6 separate regions of the Homo sapiens genome follow, and regions 2, 3, 4, 5 and 6 are each linked to region 1. Evidence: promoter capture Hi-C in 16 types of primary human blood cells and fetal thymus (Javierre and others, 2016). All regions are on one chromosome and are shown on one strand. The core of a region is centred on a gene start or on the middle of the fragment in contact, and the rest is flanking DNA. Distances in the headings are between cores, read along the strand shown. Region 1 holds the start of TRAM2 (translocation associated membrane protein 2). Region 2 has its middle 27 kb from the start of MCM3. Region 3 overlaps FBXO9 (F-box protein 9). Region 4 overlaps GSTA4 (glutathione S-transferase alpha 4). Region 5 overlaps CILK1 (ciliogenesis associated kinase 1). Region 6 overlaps MCM3 (minichromosome maintenance complex component 3).

Region 1 (2,700 bases), core at 1-2,500:
GTTCCTCACAAGACGAAGGTTCAACTTTGAGAAAGGTCAGCCTTGAAGTTAAATGAGGTTTAGTCCAATCTAGGCATTACTTTGTCATTTCCTTGAGAGTCAGATAAGGGAATTACAGACCCAAGACTGTATTTTAAGTAAGGTGGAGTGCAGATTGAGGAAGTAAAATTTCTCTAGGAACTCCATCCTGTCTCAATTACATTCCACCGCGTGCCACTTTTAAAAAACCATATTTATTTAGAAGTGAAATAACTGTGGACCTAATAAAAAATGGAATAGGAATTAGTTTTTTTTGTTCATTACGTATTTCTGCACATCTAGAAAGTAACTGACTGCTTCATTACTGGTAGGATTAAATCCAATATTTGCGAATATAATTTATTAAGAACACCTTTTGTCCTTCCAGGAGTACTTTTAAGACTTAATATTAAATAGAAACTTTCAGTGAGAAAGTTCCTTCCTTTTTTGCTTCTTCTGTGTTTATTCTTCCACTTCTTCTGATTAATATGTAAGGTAGACTTTCGGTGAAATGTGTGTAGCTAATTAATGGTGGCATGAGGGTCCCAAAAATTACTGGGCAAAACTGCAATCATCCACCCTCTCCCCGCATTGGAGCGAAAGCTCCCCTAGGGCAGGGTCTTTCGGTTTGTTGATCTACCTGAACTGTGCCTAGCCCACTGCAAGTTCTCGATAAATACTTGAGTAATCTCCATTCACTGATCGTCCGTGCAGGGCGCTGTGGCCAGCCAGAAGGCCGGTTCGCGGCTTCCCTGCTTCCGCCGCACCCGCGCCGCCCTCAGCCCCCGGGGCCACAGCCCGCAACCCCGGGAGCATCCGGCTGCCCGGCCACCCCCGGGGCGCTCGCTGCCTCCGGGGCCTGCCCTTCCCGCGGAGGAAGGAGCGGAGCGAGGAGTGGGAAAGCTGGGCCCACTTCCTGTCCGGGCAGGCCTGGGCGCCCGCCTCCTCCGCGGCCTGCTTTCTCCACCGCGAGCGGCTGAGCCTCGGGCCCCGAGAATGCGGCCGGGCGCGGCGCTGGCGCGGGACGAGGAGGAGCCGAGCCCCGCTCGCCGCCCCCGTACGCCTCCGCCCCGGTAGCCCGCGCGTGCCCAGCGGCTAGAGGGTTAAGCCCGCGGGGGGCGGGGCCAGGCGCGCCGAGTGCGGGCCGCGGGCTGGGCGGGGGCTGGGCGGGGGCTGCGGCCGGGGGCGGTTACGGGCGGCCGGGGGCGGGCGGAGGAAGGGGGCGGGCCCCGAAGTTGTTCCGCGCTGGGCGGGCGAGCGGCTGTGGGAGAGCGGGCGGCGGGCCGGCGGGCGGACCGGGCCGGTGCTGGAGAAGTTTGCGCTGCGGTTCGTGAGCGCAGGGTGCGGGCCCCGCCGGCCGCTGCGCGCCCGCTGCCATGGCTTTCCGCAGGAGGACGAAAAGTTACCCGCTCTTCAGCCAGGAGTTCGTCATCCACAACCATGCGGACATCGGCTTCTGCCTGGTGCTCTGCGTCCTCATCGGGCTTATGTTCGAGGTGAGAGCCTGGGGAGGAGGGAGCTGGAGGGACAGTGCCCCCTGTCGTGCACCGCCCGGCACACCCCTGCAGGTCAGCGGGCCCTCCTCTGATCGGAGGCTCCTGGCTGCCGTGTACGTTATCTGCACCCCGGCTTTGTGCACTGTACCCCTCCGGCCTGTACCCCGGCCAGCCCAGACAGCACCCCCAGCTCCGCGCCGTGCCAGCCATGCCATGCTCTGCCGCCCCCTTGGGCACTCATCGTATCCTGCAGCTCTGTCTGCAGCCCTGAAACCCCAGCCTGGCCTCGAACCAACCGCCGCGCTGCCACCATGGCTTGACGCGTGGGGTTCCCTTTCTGGCGTCCAGGAGCCAAGCCCAGAGACTCCCAGACCCGCAGTCATTGCACAACCCCCTCTTGCCCCAAGGGGTGGCCACTAGCTCTTCTGGGCTTTTCCAGTGGGAGAGACCCAGAACCTTTTCCACTTCCTATGTGATTTTCTGGGTGTTTTGCATCTCAGCTCTGGAACGTGCTCGGATGTTCACGTGTGGCCCTGGCCCCATCCCAGCAGTGGCCTTCTGCTCTCGTCTCGCTCCCACTTTTTTGCTGTGCTCTAGAAGGCCAATTTTTGGATATCCTTTACCACTCCGTGAACTGTCCCTTTAGATCCATCTGCGGCGACCCAGAGCTTCACCCCCTTTACAGAGACAAGAAGAGAGACAGGGATACCCTCCACTTTTTGGGGAAAGTTGATTCTCTTATAGTGTAGGAGTGGGGGGCAGAGGATGGGGATCCCACCCCCAACAGCAATGTCCTGGTGTCGGCCTCCCAGGCAGGGAGTTGTAGAAAGCCAGCAAGGGGTCAGAATTCACAAGACTGATGGGAAGGATTCCCTACTCTTGCAGAGCAAGAAAAATGTGATATTCAAAAGTGGGAAGAACTGGAGGAAGCTTGGCATGGGTTTGTTGCGGTATATCTTGTCTCAGAAGTGAGATATGTGAGCGACATTCCCCTCACTCTCACCGTGGTCTCCTCTGGTTCCTGAGACTCCTTGTCCTCCCTTCTGCGTCAGCTTGCTTATTGCATTCTCACGGTTGGGTTAGGAAGCTGTGATCATTTACAAACTTCCTTGGAGATGGAGGATGGCTTGCCTGGCTAAATTTCCTTCCCTGTCCCTCTGTCTCGGGTTCCCTGTATCTCTACGAA
Region 2 (2,804 bases), core at 196-2,695, 260 kb after region 1:
AACAAAGCATAGAGTAAAACAATCAAGCAGAGCAGTTTTAAGACTCCAGTAGGTCCCAGGCATTTCTAATCTCAGAGGCTCTGCTACCCCCACATAGTACAAAATATATTGAACCCACATTTTACATCAAACACCACGTATATCACCACATAATTAGAGTAGAATTGAGTTGCAGTTAATTAATTTTCATCATGTTAAATTTATGGACATTTAAAGATACATATATTAATTTTGATTTTGCAAACTTTTTTTTTTAATGTCATTCTCCCCTCATCCCTGAAAGTCTCAGACATTTTTGTGGACCTAGAAAGAACTGTAGGTCCAGGAATACTCATTCTATTTTGTAGAATGAGATGTTGCCTGATTCCAGATTTGCCAATAAGAGCCAATTAAAAATAGAAGAAATGTAGGTCCTGAGCACTTTGCCTAATGGATACAAGGCCCAGCAATCAAGGGCTAAACTGGAAGGAATAAACAACAAATGCTAGAGCAATTCGGGGAGAGGAGGTATCAGTAAGGGCAGGAAAGCTTACGCGTCATATCTGTTAACCTGTTGATTTGCCTGGCCAAGAACTGCAGCTCCTAGGAAGCAGAGGAAGTAAGGGGACACTGTAGTCTGGGCATAACTTGGACCCCAAAGTTTCTCCAAGCAGAAACTAATGGGGTCAACTTGAAGGACTAGAAGCCTAGGTAAAAGTATCCATGCCTTCTTTCTTTTTTTCACTATGCCCCAGAACTGAGCAGACCTGTATCTTTTCAAAGTTTGGAGTACACAAGAATGGACACTGTCAGATGTTATGAAGGCAAATGTCAAACCATTCAGGGAAAAATCACAGATCTGATTACATGGCCTGAGACACTAAACAGGAGGATGTCTCCAGAGAATAAGAGAACTGTCAAAAACTGAACACTGAGGATACAATGAACAATGGGGAAGGCAGGAAATTGAGAGCTGGAGAGACCCATCAAGCTGAAATGCAAACTCATTAGTCAGCTCAGATTTGAAAAATGCCGCATTGAGAAAAGAGAATGTAGATGCAATGAAGGTGGCTTAGTCTGCTCAGGCTGTCATAACAAAATGCCATAGACTTTTCGATGGCTTAAGGCACAGAAATTTATTTCTTACAGTTCGGTAGGCTGGGAAGTCCAAGATCAAGGTGCTGGCAAGGCAGGTCTCATCCTGAGGCCTCTTCTCTTGGCTTGTAGGAGGCTGCCATTACTGTTTACTCACATGACCTCCTGTTTGTGTGCTGGGGCTATGGTGGAGTGAGCTCTCTGGTGCCTCTTCTTATGAGGGCACTGACTTCAGTGTGACAGTCCCGCTGTCAGACTTCATCTAATCCTAAGTACCTCCCAAAGGCCCCATCTCCATAGACCATCACATTGGGGATTAAAGTTCATTGCAACATATGAATTTTCAGTGGACACTATTTAGTGCATAGCAGAAGGATACACCTAAAAGACGGACACCTAAAAGAGGGACTTTCAGGACAGCTGACAAAATGGATAAAGCCAAGAATGAGCTGTTTGAGAAAAATAAGAATTTTTTTTTTAAAGGCCATGTAATATTGCAGAAAAGAGTAGGAGCATTGGTTACAGACAGACCTGGGCTGAATCCTGTTTATTAACTGTGTAGCCTTCGATAAGTTACTTAATATCTCTGAGCCTCAGTTTCCATAGCTGTAAAAGGAACATTAAAAACGTATCACAGGGTTGTTGTAAGGATTAATGAGATAAAGGGTTTAAAGTACTGGCACAGAGAAAAGGCCTTCTAAAGGTTTTGATGGGGGATGGAAGGTACAGGCATGTTGTTGAGGAGCGAATGGGATGGTGATAGGTGACAGGGAGAAGCTGGTTCATGCTGAAATGTGCTGGCTCATGAGTACCACTCTCGCTGAGCAGGAGGTAGGACTGGGTGACTTCTCTAGTGCTCTCCAACTCTGAAATCCCATTAATCCCCATATCTATGAGGAAGCAGATCTGTTCATCTCACCTGCTTTGTTGTTACTATCCATTCGTGCTCTGCATTTTTACAAATATTATCTTATTCAATCTTCACTACAACCTGAAACCTAATAGTAATAATAATAGCGATTATTATTCCCATCTTACAGATTAGCAAACTGAAGTTCAAAGAATTGGATAACCTAGCCCAAGATCAGACCTTTGGAGAATGAAAGAATCTGGATTTGCACCCGGAACTTACTGGCTTCCACCTCTAAACACCAGCTTCCCTGTTCCAACTTTTCTAAAGTTGAATGTTCTTCATACAAATATCAGCAGGAAGACATTGAGGCACAAAATAAATGGGGTATTGTATGAGAATGCCTAGCTTTCAATGAGCTTATGTCTCCAAGCTTGGACAAATTCCGGCTGGGGTACCAACAGAATTTATATATGAGAAGACTGTTGGCAGCTTTTCAGGGACTGTGGGGCCGGGGAGAGACGCCAGAAGACTGTGGCTGGGTACACACTATTCCATTTTGTGAAAAGGGGAAGAAGGTTGATTCTGCAAACCATAGATGCCAGAGTCCTGGGCAAAGTTCTTGAAGGGCATCCTATAAACATAAAAAAAGGGAAGTCATTGCTAGGCACCAACAAGTTTTCATTGAGAAGAGATTATTCCAAATGAACCTAACTTCCATTTCTCATAAGGTGAAAAATTGGTATGGCTTTATTTAGACAATACATTTTGCTCATTTTCATGAACCAGTTGAAAAATCTATTTTGTAAAAAAATTAATAAAAAATAATAAGACTGTTTCTATGAGAAATATAATTTTTTGGTTATTCATTTTAAAAATT
Region 3 (3,086 bases), core at 291-2,790, 500 kb before region 1:
TACTAGCACACAGAATTGTGAAAAAGAGTCTTCAAGAAATTCAAATATTTTATGAAAACTACAAGATTCCAAATGGAATTAATTTAAAAATAATGCATCTGAATTTTAAGAACAAGTTGTTTTTAAAAATTCTATATAAGGACTAAGTATATAGTTTTAGGTTTTACATTTAAGTCTTTAATCCATCTTGATTTGATTTTTGTGTGTCGTGTAAGGAAAGGATCCAGTTTCCATCTTCTGCACATGGCTAGCCGCTTATCTCAGCACCATTTATTGAATAGAGTCCTTTCCCACACATAGCAAAATTTTCAAAATATAGAATAACTTTTAATGAGCCATAAGAAAATGCTAGTGCTGTTTTAATCTAAACCATTACCACAATGAGTTTACAGTTAGTGTAAAAATGACTTGAATATATTTTTCTAATATAACTCTTTTTCCCAAATCAGTTAAGCTAGCATGTAAACTCTATGGTAGTAGTATGGGTTACTACATCTGTCCTACATATTATTCTATACCCTAGAAACCTAGCATATTCTAGCCTTTAAATTCTAAGTTATTTGAGAAAGTTAAGTACAGCTTAGCAAAACTTGTTTATTCTAAGCTTTAACTCAGAACACCAATCAAGTAATTTTATCAGGATTGGCAAAGGACCATCTTTCTTTTCACCATTGCCTCAGTTGTTTAAAAAACAAAAACAAAAACTTAGTACCTGGCACAGATGTAGAATCCTCTGCACACCAGCGACAACTGCTCCAATGATCTGAGGTCCAAGTCACTAGACACCACCCATCGGAAGATGTACATCAGGACCTCCATTGGCAGCACTGCAAAAGAAAATCATCCTTCAGTGACTCTCCTCTATGTCATTCTATTGTCACAACTACATTCCCAGTACATTTATACCTTCCTAGAAATTTATAATCACACCCTCTGTATTGCTCAGAGCTAAAGCATGAATGTATTTAGCTACTCAATAATAATAATGGTTCTTAACATCAAGACATAAATATCTTTGTTTTTTCAGTATAGATCTGAAGCTACTTTTTATAAAGCACTCTTTTCCCTCATAAGATTATTTTGCCAGACATATTAAAATAAATGTTTTAGGAAAATAATCTATGTGTGTGTGATCCATATTGCATCTATTAACACTAAAGTTATTTTCATCTCCTTGAAAACTTTTAATTGTCCTCCTCTGAAAAAGCCCCGAACCAAACAATATTTAACATATTAAAAATACATGAATTTCTTTTTTTTTTGTGACAGGTTCTTGCTCTGTTGCCCAGGCTGGAGTGCAGTGATACAATCTCAGCTCACTGCAGCCTCTGCCTCCTGGGTTCAAGTAATTCTCGTGCCTCAGCCTCCCAAGTAGGTGGGACTACAGTCATGCGCCACGACGCCCAGCTAATTTTTGTATTTTTAGTAGAGGTGGGGTTTCACCATGTTGGCCAGGCTTATCTTGAACTCCTGGCCTCAAGTGATCCTCCCAACTCAGCCTCCCAAAATGCTGAGATTGCAGGCGTGAGCCACCATGCCCGAACAAAAATCCATTAATTCCTAAACATTCAGTCTGTCTCAGGACAATTGTCCAACATGGCTGAAATGCTTCATGATACCAGTATTCCTCCAGTTTTCTTAGGGCTACCTCAACAACTCAGACTTACCCTGTTAGATCTTTACTGAAAAAGGTATGGCATCCTTAAACAACAGCACTACAAACTGTTCTGCTTCAGATTGTAAAGCAGCTTACTACTGGGCTGGGCGCAGTGCCTCAGAGGCCTGTAATCCCAGCACTTTGGGAGGCCAAGGTGGGCAGATCATGAAGTCAGGAGTTCGAGACCAGCCTGGCCAACATGGTGAAACTCTGTCTTTACTGAAGATACAAAAATTTAGCTGGGTGTGGTGGCACACGCCTGTAATCCCAGCCACTTGGGAGGCTGAGGCAGCAGAATTGCTTGAACCCAGGAGGCAGAGGTTGCAGTGAGCCGAGATTGCACCACTGCACTCCAGCCTGGGTGACAGGGCACGTCTCCATTTCAAAAAACAAAACAAGACAAAACAAAACACAAAACAGCTTAATAGTATATGCAAATGATAATTATAACTAGATCTTCCACCATATTCTGAACTAAAGCAGCAGTTATCTGGCAAATTATCTGACCTTATAAATTTGGAAATCTTTAAGGTTAAGATATTTCTCACTGAGTTATGAAAAACAAGTATTCACACCTGATATGTGAATCTGACTGCTCTCAAGCTCAGGCTGACACAGTTTAAGCACAGACTCCTGAAATGTGAGTTGCTGCTGGAAGTAGGACAAGAGATCTGCCATTTTGCTGTCATCATCATTATCTTCAATGCTGAAAAAAGGGAGGTGAATAAATTAAGTGCCTCAGTCTACAAGCGTACAGTTTAGAAACTGATTTTTCATAGCATTTTCAAATTTGCTTTACAAAAAGTCACCTAAAGCTTATTCAACATGTGATACATTTTTAAATGTGATGAATTTATCCTGTCTTGCAAAGGAATACTGTATCAAGTTTTTCAAAGAAAAAAGCTTCAGTAATTATCATCCAGAAAGAATTAGAATTTTTGGATACAGGTGTTGAGATTTAACTAATTTTATTGTAAAGTAGAGATTTTATGAGTTACTGCAAGCTTTCAAATGGTTTCAAAAATCTTAACGTAGTATGTTCTTTAACCTTAATTTATTCTAACTGGATAAAAACCAAATCTACAGACGTCATCTGAGGTACTTACTTACCAAGGGTTTTCTAACAGATTTGCCTTATCAGCCTACCTTTAGAGAGGAAAATACCTACTTTGAAAACATCTTAGGGTTCACAAATCATCTACCAGTATACACAAATGTGTAGTGAATGGTGCTAGAAAAATGAGCTTTCTATTTTTACTGAAGTAAACCTTAAAGATGATCAGACTTACAAAGAGGATTGGATGAAGGCGAAGTTAGAAAACCAGGAAGTTTCAAGTGATGTAGACTTAAAAAAAACAAAAAAACAAAAAAAAAAACCAGGAAGGGCATTTTGTAATACAACAAAATATAAGTGTGGTTGAGGCTAGAT
Region 4 (2,856 bases), core at 94-2,593, 410 kb before region 1:
GTTTGACCCATACGAAGAGACCAAAACATGGATGCTGGGGTAAAAGTGGAGGAGTAGGATGCCAGGAGAGAGAGCACTCATGACTGTCAAGCTGTCTGATCTGTGACAGATTTTTCTGAGTTACAACTAGAATTGACCTTATATCTTTGCTCTTAAGAGACAGGTATAGGTAAATGCTTCTAGGGACTTAAGTTGCAGCATCTTTAAAAAAAAAAAAAAAAGCACTCTGAATTCTTAGTTGTGGAAACTGATGGCTTCAAAGAGAGGAGAAACTGAGACAACTGCTTTTTTGTTTTAAGGATTGACATGTACGTGGAGGGGACACTGGATCTGCTGGAACTGCTTATCATGCATCCTTTCTTAAAACCAGATGATCAGCAAAAGGAAGTGGTTAACATGGCCCAGAAGGCTATAATTAGATACTTTCCTGTGTTTGAAAAGGTAGGTGGCAGAGATGCCTACATACACAGAGCAACCAAACCACAAACCACAAAGAAGCTGCCACAAACACCCTTTTCTGTCCAAGGATTTTAAAACTGAGCCCAGTTGAACTAACCTAAGCGCTAATGGACTCCTAAGAGCGAATAGTAGCCACAGCACAAAGCTGGTGTCTTAGAGCCCCTTGGACTCTGCTAGGACCACATGATTCAGAAGTCTAGAAAAAGTATGGGCTCCCTGCCTTTGTTCCTTATTGTTCCTTGCATTCACCAAGTTCCCACCTTGTGTGGATACAGCAGAAACTTCAGAAGATACAGAAAACAAAAACTACCTCATTCATTCATTCAACAAAAGTTGTCGAACAGCTGTCTCAGCTGACATCCTCCCTGATAATTCGATATGAGTAGAAGAACCATTTCCATTTTATTTATCTTCCCTTTGCTCTTTTTGTTTTTGGTTTTGTTGTTTTTCTCTTCTTGTTATATCTGCTTTTCTGAGCTTCAAATTCTTTATTCCTGAACTGGGAGGAACTTTTTTAGTGTTTCAATGCAAACACTAAAGAAGAGGGTGTGAAAATATGGGAAGACCTATTTGGCAAGCTTCCTCTGACCATCTTTATGGAACTAGATTTAGGAAAAAGGAGAGGTATTTTCTGGGGTTTCTGTAGCTAGGTTTTATGGTATCTTTCCCACAGGCACTTTGTGAATGTAAAATAGGATAATGAAGAAATGTGGTCTGGAACGGGCACAGAGGACCTGGTGCTTTGGCAAAGGTTCACTGCTCATTCTTAGGTCCCAAGGGCCCAGACTGTGTCAGGGTTTCTTGCAACACGCCTATGAGGTGAGAACCGTTGTCCCTTTTACACATAATGAAATGAAGTCATGAAGAGATTCAGTGACCTGTCCAAGGTAACATGGCCAGAAAATGGAGAGCAGGGTTGGAACTCTGGCCTCTGACTACAAATTCAGGATGCATTGTACTATGCCACTCTGGCTCCAGTAGCTATATTTGACCTGGAATTGTGTTCGGAGTCCCTGTGACACACACACTTGTGCACATGCAGACACCCATGGGCATCCAAGAGTTGACTGTGAAGGGGATCTCCCCTTTGCTACTACTGCTTCTTGCCTCTCCCTAATCACAATCTATTCTTATAAGCCCCACACCTATACGTTACCCTCAGAATGGGAGTCAAGATGAACTCAAGCTTTTCATTTTCTCTGTTTTGGGACATGTAAGAGGAAGTCTAATTTTATAATTGGGTTGAGTTTATGACTACACCTCTTGATGTTCTAGCAGCAGAACTGGGAAATAAGAGTGGGCCCCTTGAAGATGATCTATCACTTAGATTTCTTAAATCACCCTGCCCCTCCCCAAGCCTCCTGCATGCATTTCTGTAGATACATTTTTGGAGTAGATATATCCTTTCAAAACACCAGATGCTAAATCCAGAAATAAGGAATTTTCCCTTCCCCACTTCAATGTCTCATTCAGATCCACAGCAGATATTTAAGGATGCTTTCATTTCCACACCTTTTTTGTACTTTCTCTCTCTCTCTCTCGCTCTCTCTCTCTCTCTCTCCCCCTCTCTCTCACTCTCTCTGTCAGATATAGGGTGCGTTCTCTTAATTGATGTTATTTATGAAAGCATGAAATGACAAGGTCATAGTTTCACCTCTTCTCAGATACTGCACTGATTCAATAGCCTCATCACTCTCTCCATGTGGAATATTGTAACTGATGCACACCATTTCCCTACAGATTTTAAGGGGTCACGGACAAAGCTTTCTTGTTGGTAATCAGCTGAGCCTTGCAGATGTGATTTTACTCCAAACCATTTTAGCTCTAGAAGAGAAAATTCCTAATATCCTGTCTGCATTTCCTTTCCTCCAGGTAAATAAAACTATGTATTAGAAGATTGGCCTAGAACTCTTGGGCCTTCCTTCAGTGTCTATTGTTTGGTTGGCTTTGGGGAGTGTGTGTGTGTGTGTATGTGTAATATTTTTAAGATTCTAGTTTGGCAAATGAAATGAAAGTAAGGACCCAAAGTTATTTTTCTGGTCCTTAAATCCTTCAAGTTGAAAGATCATTGAAGTGTAAAATTTTTTTTTTTTAAGGTGGGATCTTACTATGTTGCCCAGAATGGTCTTGAACTCCTGGGCTCAAGAGATCCTCCCACCTCAGTCTCCTGAGTAGCAGGGACTATAGGCATGTGCCAGCACACCCAGCTCAGAAATTTTCATCTTAATTTTGTTCCATAACTGCACTCCTGGAAAAAACTCCATGCACAGGGAGTTTGCCTCAGGGGACTTTCCATAGAAATAACCATAGAGATGAGGTGGTCTCACACTCACATGTATCTACTGATGGAATAGTGGGCGAGATAAACATCAAAACAGTCTCATTCATCAGGCTATG
Region 5 (3,088 bases), core at 19-2,518, 480 kb before region 1:
AGGTCCTTTTGGCTTTGTAACTGCTATTCCTTATGCAGAAAAAAAGCAGTAGTCCAAGAGGCAAAATGCTTAAAAGGTTTGCTTGCTAAAATGTACAGAGGCAGAAGAATTAGGTCCAGGAGAAAAACATAAACCCGGATATACTATTTCTAGTACCTTTTTAAAAGAAATTAACAGTATTCACTGACTTTTGTAAAGTTAGGACACATTCAAACCTAGAATACGAAGTCTAATTATAAACCTGTAAAGGTAAAATGGAACTCAGAATTACCATGAGAAGGGTCATCTAATGATTTTGCATATAATCCACTTTTCCTAGGAGGATAAATGAAAGTAACAGAATCTTTTCAATGTAAGATAATTAATGCAAAGGGAGACAAGCTCCTTCTAAGGAACTGAATGGTGTCAGTGGGCCTGGTAAACCACAACTCCCAGAGAACCCCAAGTTTGCTGTAACTTTTTGTCTCCTGTCTTAGAAAATGTGTAATGATGGCATTAATTCATTGATTAAGGTTTCAAAATAAAGAATGAACTACAATTTTCCCTGCCCCTCGCCTCCATTTTTTAGGCTGTGAATGAGCAAGGCACCTGATGTGAGCTGCTGGCCATGAGCAAATGTTCTTTGCCTCCACCGAGGATTGACGCTGAGGGGAGGGAATTGGGGCAAATCACAGGAAGCTTTTCCCCAATGTCACCTAGCCAGGAACATCATAACATTGACTTCAAAGGTTTGCTGGAACTCTTTGAAAGAGAGATAAAGCTGTCTTTCTTTGGTAGTTGAGTACAGCCTTACCCAAAGGCCAAAGGCCTGATCTGACCGCATGGAGGGGGACTTTCTGTGATCCTCTGAGACTCAGTCATCTTGGCATTGTTGTGGGAGGGCCCAGGCTGCCTGCCTGCCCCAGCTATTCTGTGGTATTCACTGTTCTTCCACTTCAGAACTTCAGAACTTTTAGTTGGGCCCAACAGTTTATCTTTGTTTTGTGTATGACAAAATAGAAGCACTGAGAATTTTGAGGTACTTAGCCAAGGTGGTACAGAAAATAATAGCAAAGACTAAAACTCACATTTGGGCCCTTCAAACAATCTTTGAGGACTTGCTACTGCAAGTGGAGTGAGAAGACAAAGATGAAGCAGTCTTGGAGAGTGTCGAGGCTGAAGCAGAGGGTACACCTGCAGGTCATTGCCACGGGGAAGGGGCTGGCAGTGAGGTGAGGACAAGGCACTATGGCATCAAGGGAGAGGACCATTCTCGGGTCTATATGTGTAGGTTGGGGCAGGAGGCTTGGAAGAGGTGACATGTGAGCTCGAAAGAGAAGGAATCGATGTTTAATGTTTACTGGGGCCTGGCTGAGGCACTGGGGCACTTGTGCATCTCTTGAAAGAAAGGTGTGTAGCATACAGGGTCCTTCGGTGGCACTGTCTTCTCCGCTAACCTTTGTTCATGTGATGCAAAAAGCAGAAACATTTATCCTTTTTTTTTTCTTAGACAAATGCTAGCTCAATTCCTGATACAGAGTCACAGAATCACACAGCTTTAGAGGAAGAAACCACCTTAGAGCAAGTCCCATGCCCTAATTCCACCAAAAGTAAACTCAAGGACCAAGAGATGCCCCGAGGCACAGCAGATCAGTGCTGAGTGGAAACTGGAACCAGTCCCTCACTTTGCCTCCACTGTGGGCATGTTGGTGCTGCCAATGGCTCCAGAGGATTCGCTGATATTTGATTGCAGAATGAAGACAATTAGAACATAGCCATATCATTCATTTTCATATTTGGGCTTTGAGATACAAAGTACTACTTCTGTTCCTGTCATTTTCAGATCCTCCAAAGATTTCATGATCTTTTGAAAGCTTTCCCTTAAGTTTGGTACAGTCAGCCTGGGTTCCTGTCTCATTTCTGCCACATTAGTCGTATAATCTAGACATGTAACTTGTGTCTCAGTTTCCTTCTCTGTAAAATAGGGATAATTGTAATAGTACCTGCCTGGTAGAATTATGAGGGTTAAATGTACTAATATATGCATAAGCACTTATAATAGTACTATGCACATACTAAGTACTAAAATTATCATGTTTTGGGCATATTTGATATATGAGGGTGCTAAGTGTAGATTCGTTGTAGTGAATGATTTATCCAAGTTAATTCTTGGAGTCAAAGCAGAATTTAGAAATACTGCGAGTTAGAAATACATGCTAATTCTCAAGGTAATGGACAGGCTGCTACATTCCATTCACTTCTCAAGCAGTGTTAACTATCTGTACCAGAAGCTGAATTTAAATGCTGTCAGGGCAGAGGAGGAAAATAAAAGACTCAAGGAAGCTGGGTGTGTGCTTGTCAAACAGTAAGAAATTGCTCTTCTCTTCTAAAAAAGAACAATTTTTCTTCTCTTCCAATTTTTCTTTAAGTATAAGGTTTTTTTTTTTTTCAGGCTTTTACTTTGTCACTTTTGTTATAGGCATAGGAACAGAGAAATATTTTTCATCCAGTAAAACAAGTGGCTATGAAGGCACACAAAAAAATGACAGCTAAAAAAAAAAAATGGCAAGTGGCAACAGGCAAAAAATGGGGACTGTGGTGAGCTGCAGAGCACACGCCCAGCCTGAAGAGGTACGGACATTTCTTCCACTTCTTATTACCGTGAAGGGCTAAGGACCCCAGGTGGTTAGACCTTCAGTGTTTCCAGAGAAGCTCCAAATAGGGATTTATATAGGAAATTCCCTATTTTTTATTTATTGATTTTTTTTTTTTTGAGACAGAATCTCACTCTGTCCCAGGGTGGAGTACAGTGGTGCGATCTCTGCTCACTGCAACCTCCGCCTCCTGGGTTCAAGCAATTCTCCTGCCTCAGCCTTCTGAGTAACTGGGATTACAGGCATACACCACCACGCCTGGTTAATTTTTGTATTTTTAGTAGAGACAGGGTTTCACCATGTTGGCCAGGCTGATCTCGAACTCCTGACCTTGTGATCTGCTGCCCTTGGCCTCCCAAAGTGTTGGGATTACAGGTGTGAGCCACTGTGCCCTGCCGAAATTCCCTATTTTTAAATCTGGGATTCAGCCCCCAGAGTGCCAGTGTGCCATCTCT
Region 6 (2,874 bases), core at 168-2,667, 310 kb after region 1:
CCCAATATCCAGATGAATATCCGAGATGTTGAATAAACTTAGCCATTTCGTACACATGGTCTTAATAGTCATAGTGTGTTTTTTATACATAACATTGAATTGTTTTCCTTGAGAGCAATCGTGCAGGGTTTGCTGCTCCCGCATTTGCAGCAAACTACCACAAGGTGGCAGCAGCCTGCTGTGATCTCTGGGGGTCATGTCTTCTCTAGAGGCAGTTTTCTTCTTCAGCAGCACCAGCGTTTATCAGTCAAAATTGATAGTATAGACCAAACCCTGCCAATTTAAAATAGCTAAATGGCCACGGGAGGCTAGTGAGTAAAAGTTCAGGAGAAGAATTGCCCCTCTGCCTGGCGCTTTTTGCCTGAATCTAAACTTATCCTTCATAAAGATAGAATACCCGATACGTCAGACACCTCAAAATCCTGGGAGTTCTTGCCCATAATGAGATCTTGTTACAGTATCTTTTTTTTTTTTTTTTTTTTTTTTTTTGAGACAGGGTCTCGCTTTGTGCCCAGACTAGAGTGCAGTGGTACAATCACAGCTGATGACAGCCTTGACCTCCTGGGCTCAAGTGATCCTCCTGCCTCAGCCTCCCTAGTAGCTGAGACCACAGACACGTGCCATCATGCCCCGCTAAGTTTTTATTTTTAATTTTTAGTAGAGATGAGGTCTGTCTGTTGCCCAGGCTGGCCTTGAACTCCTGGACTCAAGTGATTCTCCCATCTCGGCCTCCTAAACTGTGAGATTATAGGTGTGAGCCACTGTGCCCAGCCTACAGGATGCTTTTGAAACTACCTGGGTGTCCACTCTTTGGGGTTGGTTAGCCTGTTTGCACAGAAGCTTGTGATGGGGCCAGGGCGGGACTTCTGTCCTACCGTTATATGGTTTGAATAGCTTCTGAAGAATTTTTCAAGTTACTTAGAAGAATCATGTGACTTTATGGGGGGCCTCGGTCACATGGACCGGAAGCTGCTTTCTGGTGGCAGATGTGGCTCTGAAGTTGTGCCAGTTCTTGGCTGTAAGATTGCTGAGGTATTTTCTTTTCCATTTTTGCTGAGGGGTGATCCTTTACCACAAAGCAGGAGATATTCTTTGGTTCGTTAGGACAAAGGGATTTTTTTCTTAAAGGGAGTAGTACAAAATTATTGGGGAATTCTGTTTTATCTGGGATTTTTTTTTCCCCCTCACTGATGCGAGCGAGATCTAAGTCCTACTGGAAGTGGTCTAGAGAGCACAGTTTCAAAAGAGAGTGCAGTGGTACCAGAAGGAAGAATTTGCCATTTGTTGAGCATTGGCAATAAGTCAGAAGTTGTGCTAGGTATAGCAGTGGGTGCAAAAGTGGCGCTTTCTGCTCTGAGGCTTCTAGGCTGGGGATATGTCAATATGTTGGTGAAAATTTCAAAATATAAAGTGTACAGCTGGGCACGGTGGCTCATGCCTGTAATCTCAGCACTTTGGGAGGCTGAGGCAGGCGGATTGCTTGAGTCCAGGAGTTTAAGGCCAGCCTGGGCAACATGGCGAGACCCTGTCTTTATTAAAAAAAAATTAAGTATGATTATATACCAAATGAGGGCACACACAGAGATATAGGAATCCAGGGAGGACCATGAGGATGTCAGGTGCTACTGATGGGGTACAGCTATGAAGAACAGTTCTAGGAGTTCTTAGGGATCTCCTCAAGTGATTTGTTCTAGAAAGGCAAACATTCTGTCAATGGGACTCTTAGTCTGTCCTTCACCTCTGAGGAAACTGAGGCACAGAGTGGGGGGATATGTGCACCTACCATTGTGATAATAGCTGTAATATCAGGTTGACTTTGCTGACCATTTCATCACTCTTCAAGCTAGTCAAAAGAATAGTAGGTAGAAGACTATAGCAGCCACAATAGATACTAATTGTATTAAAATAGCATGATTCAACCTTTACATTGAGTTTTAAGAAACTTGTTTATGTAGTTCCCAGCTTACAAGAACAGAAAAGAGCTGGTAAGCTTTTCCAGGATAGGTTCTTGCTTGTTGACAGGTGATCCACTGCAGGACCTACTGTGGGGACCTGAAAGAGGCTGCTCAAGTGGGCTGACATGTCTCAAGTCCAGTCACCCCTGAGGGTATCGCTGTTGCCACCCTGCAGAGATTGCAGTGGTGACCCAGATTCACCAGAGAAAACTGCTAAATTATCTGCGTGCCTCATTCCAAAAGAGAAGTCTGTTTACATTTAGGTTTGTGGTCTGAAATACTGTAGTTAAAATAATTTGGGGAGCTTAGAGAAGTAAGTTTTTGTATCTTGAAAAATGGCACCTTATTCCTTAACTCCCCTGGATAAATGAAGTGGCAAAATGAAAGGGTGGTTTTCAAAAAGGACAATTTGGTAAGGATTGTTGAAATTGAATCTCTTCTCCGCCATTTACCGAATAACTTCAGGTAAGTTTTATGCTACTCTTTATTTCAGCTGTAAAATGGGGATGATTCCTGCCTTGTAGGATGCTTGTGAAACATAATTGGGAAAGCAGATGGCAGGTTCCCACCTGGTGTATTACTACTTCATGGCAGTGGTTTTGATTACTGCAAGTTCGAGGGCCCATTAAAACAAAGTGATTCATTTTGACAAATGTTTATGAAACATGATCCTTTAATCAAAACCATTTACAATGATTTCACCCTGGCTGCATTCCTGAACTCTCATCTCTTCCCTGCCTTTCCACTCTCTGATGGTTCCCACATTCCGGTCAGTGTGGCTCTGAGGCAAGCACTTCCCCCAGAGAGGACCCTCTCGGCGCTAGCTCGGCAATGCATTTTTCAGCTTTCTCCTGAGGACAGTGTTACCTCACAACAGGGCCGGGTGGTAGGAAAACATCAAGGGGGATAAAGAGGAGAA

Evidence for each region. Contacts are between HindIII fragments. The CHiCAGO score rates a contact against its expected background, and 5 or more counts as called.
Region 2: a contact is called between a fragment that was not itself captured here and the fragment with the promoter of TRAM2 in region 1, in 2 of 17 cell types (non-activated CD4 T cells and monocytes). The highest score is 5.9, in non-activated CD4 T cells.
Region 3: a fragment that was not itself captured here is called in contact with the fragment with the promoter of TRAM2 in region 1 in 1 of 17 cell types (total CD8 T cells); the score reaches 5.9 in total CD8 T cells.
Region 4: a fragment that was not itself captured here is called in contact with the fragment with the promoter of TRAM2 in region 1 in 1 of 17 cell types (total CD8 T cells); the score reaches 5.7 in total CD8 T cells.
Region 5: a fragment that was not itself captured here is called in contact with the fragment with the promoter of TRAM2 in region 1 in 1 of 17 cell types (total B cells); the score reaches 5.3 in total B cells.
Region 6: a contact is called between a fragment that was not itself captured here and the fragment with the promoter of TRAM2 in region 1, in 5 of 17 cell types (non-activated CD4 T cells, total CD8 T cells, naive CD8 T cells and 2 more). The highest score is 8.1, in non-activated CD4 T cells.

Annotation. Positions count from the first base shown.
Region 1 is chr6:52,575,610-52,578,309 of GRCh38, reverse strand. It overlaps TRAM2 (translocation associated membrane protein 2), which reads left to right and starts at 1,250. Exons shown (of 11, transcript NM_012288.4): 1 at 1,250-1,514. The coding sequence starts at 1,395. TRAM2-AS1 (TRAM2 antisense RNA 1) reads right to left here and starts at 1,108. Exons shown (of 3, transcript NR_103446.1): 1 at 1-1,108. RefSeq lists a silencer at 678-1,537. The HindIII fragment of the contact is 3,868 bases long and covers 1-2,446 here.
Region 2 is chr6:52,310,760-52,313,563 of GRCh38, reverse strand. No RefSeq gene overlaps it. Among named protein-coding and RNA genes, the nearest start is that of MCM3, 27 kb to the right of the region's middle. The HindIII fragment of the contact is 1,829 bases long and covers 531-2,359 here.
Region 3 is chr6:53,080,245-53,083,330 of GRCh38, reverse strand. FBXO9 (F-box protein 9) reads right to left here. Exons shown (of 13, transcript NM_033480.3): 6 at 2,233-2,363; 7 at 713-827. Among named protein-coding and RNA genes, the nearest start is that of FBXO9, 16 kb to the right of the region's middle. The HindIII fragment of the contact is 1,868 bases long and covers 607-2,474 here.
Region 4 is chr6:52,982,049-52,984,904 of GRCh38, reverse strand. GSTA4 (glutathione S-transferase alpha 4) reads left to right here. Exons shown (of 7, transcript NM_001512.4): 5 at 300-441; 6 at 2,200-2,331. Among named protein-coding and RNA genes, the nearest start is that of GSTA4, 12 kb to the left of the region's middle. The HindIII fragment of the contact is 608 bases long and covers 1,040-1,647 here.
Region 5 is chr6:53,052,393-53,055,480 of GRCh38, reverse strand. The region is part of intron 1 of CILK1 (ciliogenesis associated kinase 1); the gene reads left to right. Among named protein-coding and RNA genes, the nearest start is that of CILK1, 7.9 kb to the left of the region's middle. The HindIII fragment of the contact is 1,175 bases long and covers 681-1,855 here.
Region 6 is chr6:52,261,200-52,264,073 of GRCh38, reverse strand. MCM3 (minichromosome maintenance complex component 3) reads left to right here. Exons shown (of 17, transcript NM_002388.6): 17 at 1-59. Among named protein-coding and RNA genes, the nearest start is that of IL17F, 18 kb to the right of the region's middle. The HindIII fragment of the contact is 1,150 bases long and covers 843-1,992 here.